Regions from separate parts of the Homo sapiens genome. Here region 2 is linked to region 1. The links are contacts of gene promoters, found by promoter capture Hi-C in blood cells and fetal thymus (Javierre and others, 2016). All regions are on one chromosome and are shown on one strand. The core of a region is centred on a gene start or on the middle of the fragment in contact, and the rest is flanking DNA. Distances in the headings are between cores, read along the strand shown.

Region 1 (2,700 bases), core at 139-2,638:
GGTCACAGAAGCCTTGGTAAGACATTCCAGCTCTCTCCTCCTCTGCTTCGGTGACCTTGGGAGCCACGTGTAAGGTTAAATCAGTGATATTTCCAGGTTTATTTGTCACTGTGGCTGAGCCCCCGATGCCTGGATACAGAGAAATTAGGCTGCAGGTGGTGAATTGGAGGGGGCTGGGAAGAGGGAGTTAGTCCAGGGTGTGCTCCTGTATCTTGACTCTAGCCGCAACCCACAGGGTGAATGCAAGGTTGAAATGAGAGGGAGAGGCCAAGAAGCTGTGATCACTGTGAGAGGACCTTGCTGGGAGTCACCCAGAGTCAGCAGTGCAGAGGGGCCTGGGCCCTGTTCTGAGCAGAAGTCCACTGCCATCCCCTGGGTCTCAGTGCTCTGTTCCTGTGCTTGTTCAGAGTTCAAACTTCCCATGGATAAATGGACTGAGACTTTGGTGCAATGCTCCCTATGGCAGCTCCTGGCCTGGGATAGCCATAGGCCAGTGGGAGAGCTCTGCCCCCTCTATGTAGACTCTCCCTGGGAGGGGACAGCGGGTGGGACCCGGCCTCCACCCTCTGTGCACTGTGGGCAATCAGCCCCAAGCCTTGGGGCTCCCCATTTCCACCTGGGAAAGAGAGGATGAGGCTTAGGATGATTTCTAAGACTCCTATTTTAAAAAGATTCTATCAGCTCAGAGTAGAGAGGGGCAGGATTGCTGCCTGTTGCCCAGGCCCCCTGCTCCTCCGGCCTCCCCCGAGGGTGTCTGCTCAGTGCCGTGAGTCTCTCCTCCTAGGGGCTCCAAGGTGGGTCCAGCAGTCTCCCTAGGCATGGGGCACATGCACCGCCCGTGGGTGCAACAGCTGCCCTTCCTCCCCTCCCCTTTCCTGGCTGCTCCCTCTCCCCACCCCCACAGACTGATTTCTCTGTATCCAGGCATTAGCTCACAAGGGTGCTCAGGCCTGCTCTTGCTTTGGGGTTCATTGTAATAGTGAAAAAACGATCTTTAATGAAGTTACAACTTCTTGGATGATGGGCATCTTATTACCCATAGTCTTCAATTTGAAAGCACAGAATAGAACAAGAAAAGTAACAGGTATACCTAGTAAGAAATGTGCAAGAATTTTCTGGAACGTGTACCATCACATTCCCCCTCACCTGGCGAAGGTCCACTGCTGGTATTGCATCCAGCCTGGCTTCAGGACGTTGGGAAGAAGGCCCTTGTCTGGTCTCAGGGTCCACCTGTGCCATGGCTTCACCTCCCGCATTAACTCCTGAAACATTTGCTTCCACACTTCTGTGTCCCCAGCCATCTCTGGGGCTATGGTGTGCCTGGGTGGGTCGAGCTCTCCTGGGCCCTGGCAGGTCTGTAGTGGGAGATGAGGTTTCTGACTTCAGAGGGCAAGGACTCAGACCTGCCCTCCCTTTGAGGACCTGGATTGGGCCCATGAACCATGTCTCTGCCCCAAGGACAAAGGTCAGTTGGCTCCAAGTTCAGAGGATGGCACTAGGCTCCACAAGGAATTTCAAAAGACACAGAACTTGTGATTTTATTCATCAAAATGTTGCCAAAGAAGAGCTCTAAACTCCAAATCAGGAGGAGTGAATTTCAGTCTGGCTCCGCTGTCTACCTGCCTGTGACCTGGAACACATCTTTTCACTTCCAGCACCACTGTAAACGGTGGAGACAGGCTACAGGTGTTCTTTCCAGTTCTAACATTGGAAAATCCTTCTCCATCAGGCTGCTGTGCTCATGCTGGGGAGGAGAGGCACAGGGAAGAAGGATGAAGTGGTCCTGGGACCTCAGCGGGATTCGGATTCCCATGTCCTTGCTCCATGCTCTTTACGTTCCGGCAGACAGCCAAGGCTGCCCACCCATGAGAAACCAAAGCTGATGCAATCACTGTTTGCCCAGGCGACAGGTACAAGGGCACAGGTCGGTGAGAGGCCATTAGCCCTAGGCAAACCCAGAGTCACTGCCCTCCTTCCTGAGGGGGTTCTCCATCCTCTGCTTCCTGCAAGAGAGGATTGAGGAGGAAGAGGGGAGATTAGGGAGTGGGTACTGGAGTGGGCAACACTCCAGGAAGGTGCACAAGACTCTGGGTGTCCGCATCCCAAGACCCGTCCACAAACTGCATGTGTCTTCCTCGGGGCCAGGCACTGACCTATGTCCCTGGCCACCTCCCAAGAGGAGGAGAGGAAGGAAGGGAGCAGAGCAGGAAGGAAAAAGGAAAGGAGGCTGGGGATGCAGGGGGATGAGGAGGTCTTCCAGGGCAGTTGGAAACAAAGCCACCTCCTTCCTCCTCTCCAGCCCAGCTGCCTGCAGCTCTTGCCCTTGGGTTTAGCTCCTCGGCAGGCTCAAGTCCTGGGTCTCCCCTCTTTCCAAGCCAGTTTTGTTTCTCAGCATTAGAGCTGTCCCTCAGTTCCAGGTGGATTGGTTCCAGCGCCCCCTGCAGATAGCAAAATCCTCAGATGCTCAGGTCCCTTATACAAAATGACATAGTATTTGCATATAATCTATGCACATCCTTCTGTATACTTTAATTGATCTCTAGATTACTTATAATACCTAATACAATGTAAATGCTATGTAAATAGTTGTTACACTTTATTGATTTTAAACTGCTAACTAAAAATAAGTTCCTAAGCCCCCAAACCAACTGAATGGACTAGCTTTTGGCCAAGGGGACCCCTGAGAAACCTGAAAAACTA
Region 2 (2,700 bases), core at 199-2,698, 390 kb before region 1:
TCAGCAAGGAGCTTTAAAACCCATGCCTCCTGCACCTTCTACCACATCCCCATTTTACAGACAGGGACACTGAGGCCAAGAGTCACAGAAAGAGGAGGGCCAGGGATGGAGCTAAGATCTGCTTGACACTGAAGCAGCAGCCTTGGAAGAAGGGAAAGAGAGGAGGAAGTGCCCAGCCACACGGGTACCCTGGCACCAGCCACGGTATCATCTTTCCATAATCCTGGATTTTAGCTGCTACATTAAGCAAGTCTCCCTTTGCAGATCCCCTAAGGCAGCCTCCCCGAAGCCGATTTAGGAGCAGAGGTGTGTAGACATAAAGGTGCCGGTGATGCCAGTGATGGCGGCTTGTCCCCAGCTGTAACTGGGTAGAGGACAGTTGGGCTCTGGTGTTGGGAACCAGGCCGTTGATGCCTCCAGCACAGCCAGAAGGAGAAAACCCTGGCTAACAGGAGACCCCTTCATGACCTCCTGGCCTTCCTACAGCCCTCCTCCAGGTTCTACTACTGGGACCCATGCTGGCACCCCTGGATGTCTCCCGTGCCAGCTGGCTGGGACTGCTCCCCCACCCCTGCTGCCCTCTCTCTGTCCGGCTGGCCTGAGCAGGCTCCTCGTCCTGCCCCGCCACCGCTGACAAGTGCTGACTTTTCCTCCCCTTCGCCAGGCTTTCCTGAACAGGCTGCCTGTGTTTGGGGCTGGGAGGGGCTGGGGGGGAAGAGGCACTGTGACGCCTCTCATCCTGGCCAGCCAGCGTGGCCGCCTTCGGGGCAGGCAGTGGGATGCAGCCTGGGATAGCGGAGTTGGCTGCTACGACCTGGTGGATCTTCATAAGCAGGCCCTACTTGGGTTGAGGAATCAAGGCCCAGAAGAACAGTATGGCCTAATCTAAGCCATCGCCTGCTCAGCAGAATGGGATCCCACTAGGTCTCACCTCGGGCATAAGACTGGCCCCAGAGTTGGGGCTTTTAAGGGTTTGAAGGTCTCTGATGTTTCTGCAAACCTGAGCAAAAGTTTGCGCCCTTCTCCCAATCACACCGTATTTTGCAGACAATTTCAGAGGTCTGCAAAACCCTCGCCCCACCTTTTCTTTTTCCTGAGGACTCTCCTTCTGAAATAGCTGCCTTCCTGATGTGGTGGCTGGACCAGGGAGTGTCCCCAGAAGGCCCACAACAGGAATCTGAGGGAGGCTACTTGACGCCTCATTAAAACATTCCGAAGAAAACCCCAGTTCCTCGGAGGGCTCGGCACCCTCCTGCTGCTCTGTCCATAAGCCGTTTCAAGAGCTGAGGTGAATGTGTTTAAGAGCAGGTGATATAAAAAGCTTCAACAAATCAATACGAAAAAGACAAATAACCCATAGAATGATGGTTAATGGCCCCGAGCAAGCTCTCACTGTAAAGCCCAGAAGTCACTGGTAATCAGCAAATTAAAATGACAAGAGACACCATTTTCACCTATCCAAGCAAAGGTGAAACACAAAGAATCCTCTTAACATCCTATGAGACAGTGGGTGTGGGCAGAGAGGCCCTCCTGGTTGGTCTTGGTGTTGTATAAGTACAAAGCAGCACAAGCTTTTTAGAGGGCAATTTGGCCATGCTATTAAAATAAAAAATATGTATATTCTCAGGCCCAGCAATGACAAAATCTAGAAATATCCTACTAGGAAATAGTCACATGGGGACACTAGAGGGCATTTCAAGGAGCTTCCCTGCCACCATCTGGAATCACGCACATATAGACACACACACAAATTATGCAGAAATGATCTAAATGTACATTCCTATGGACTACTTAATGAGTCCCAGGTTTTGGAATACTATGCAGCATTTAAAAATATAGATTCATATTTACTGAAATGAAGATCTCTAAGACACACATTTACGTCAAAATATGTATGTGGCAGAGCCCTATCTAGAAACCGATGCCATTTATTTAAAAACAACCAGACAAATAGAAAATGACAAAATTATCTACTTGATATGTACACAAAGAGGTACCATTTGGAAACACACAGAAAGAGGAAGGAGAACGCCCCTCTACCCAAACTGCTAAAAATGGTTTTCCCTAGAAGGGAACTGGGGCTTGGGAGTGATCAAGGAGGGCTTCTGTTTAATTTTTATTGATTGACTCTCTCTCTTTTTTTTTTTTTTTTTTTTTCAGAGACAGGGGCTCACTCTGTCACCCAGGCTGGAGTGAAGTGGCATGATCGTAGCTCATTGCAGCCTTGAACTTCTGGGCTCAAGCAATTCTCCCTCCTCAGCCTCTCAAGTATCTGGGATTACAGACTTGTTTGACTCTTTTATAAGAACATATTCATATATCAGTTGTGAAGTTAAAAATTAACAAAATAACAGAAGGATTTAATTTTTTTTTTCTTTTTTACAGAGCCTCTGTCGCCCAGGGTGGAGTGCAGCAGCGTGATCTCGGTTCACTGCAACCTCTGCCTCCTGGGTTCAAGCGATTCTCCTGCCTCAGCCTTCCAATAAGCTGGGATTACAGGCACGTACCACCACGCGTGGCTAATTTTTGTATTCTTAGTAGAGATGGGGGTTTCACCATGTTGGCCAGGCTGGTCTCGAACTCCTGGCCTCAGGTGATCTGCCCGGCCTCCCAAAGTGTTAGGATTACAGGTGTGAGCCACTGCACTCGGCCATGATTTAATTTTTAAAAAAGAAAAAAGAAAGAGAAAACCCAGAGTGA

What was found. The method cuts DNA at HindIII sites, captures the fragments that hold promoters and counts their contacts. A CHiCAGO score of 5 or more calls a contact.
Region 2: a contact is called between a fragment that was not itself captured here and the fragment with the promoter of RTP3 in region 1, in 2 of 17 cell types (M0 macrophages and M1 macrophages). The highest score is 7.8, in M0 macrophages.

What each region holds. Positions count from the first base shown.
Region 1 is chr3:46,496,664-46,499,363 of GRCh38, reverse strand. It overlaps RTP3 (receptor transporter protein 3), which reads right to left and starts at 1,388. Exons shown (of 2, transcript NM_031440.2): 1 at 1,147-1,388. The coding sequence starts at 1,301. The HindIII fragment of the contact is 6,166 bases long and covers 1-2,700 here.
Region 2 is chr3:46,886,914-46,889,613 of GRCh38, reverse strand. The region is part of intron 3 of PTH1R (parathyroid hormone 1 receptor); the gene reads right to left. Among named protein-coding and RNA genes, the nearest start is that of PTH1R, 11 kb to the right of the region's middle. RefSeq lists enhancers at 214-971, 972-1,729. The HindIII fragment of the contact is 250 bases long and covers 1,324-1,573 here.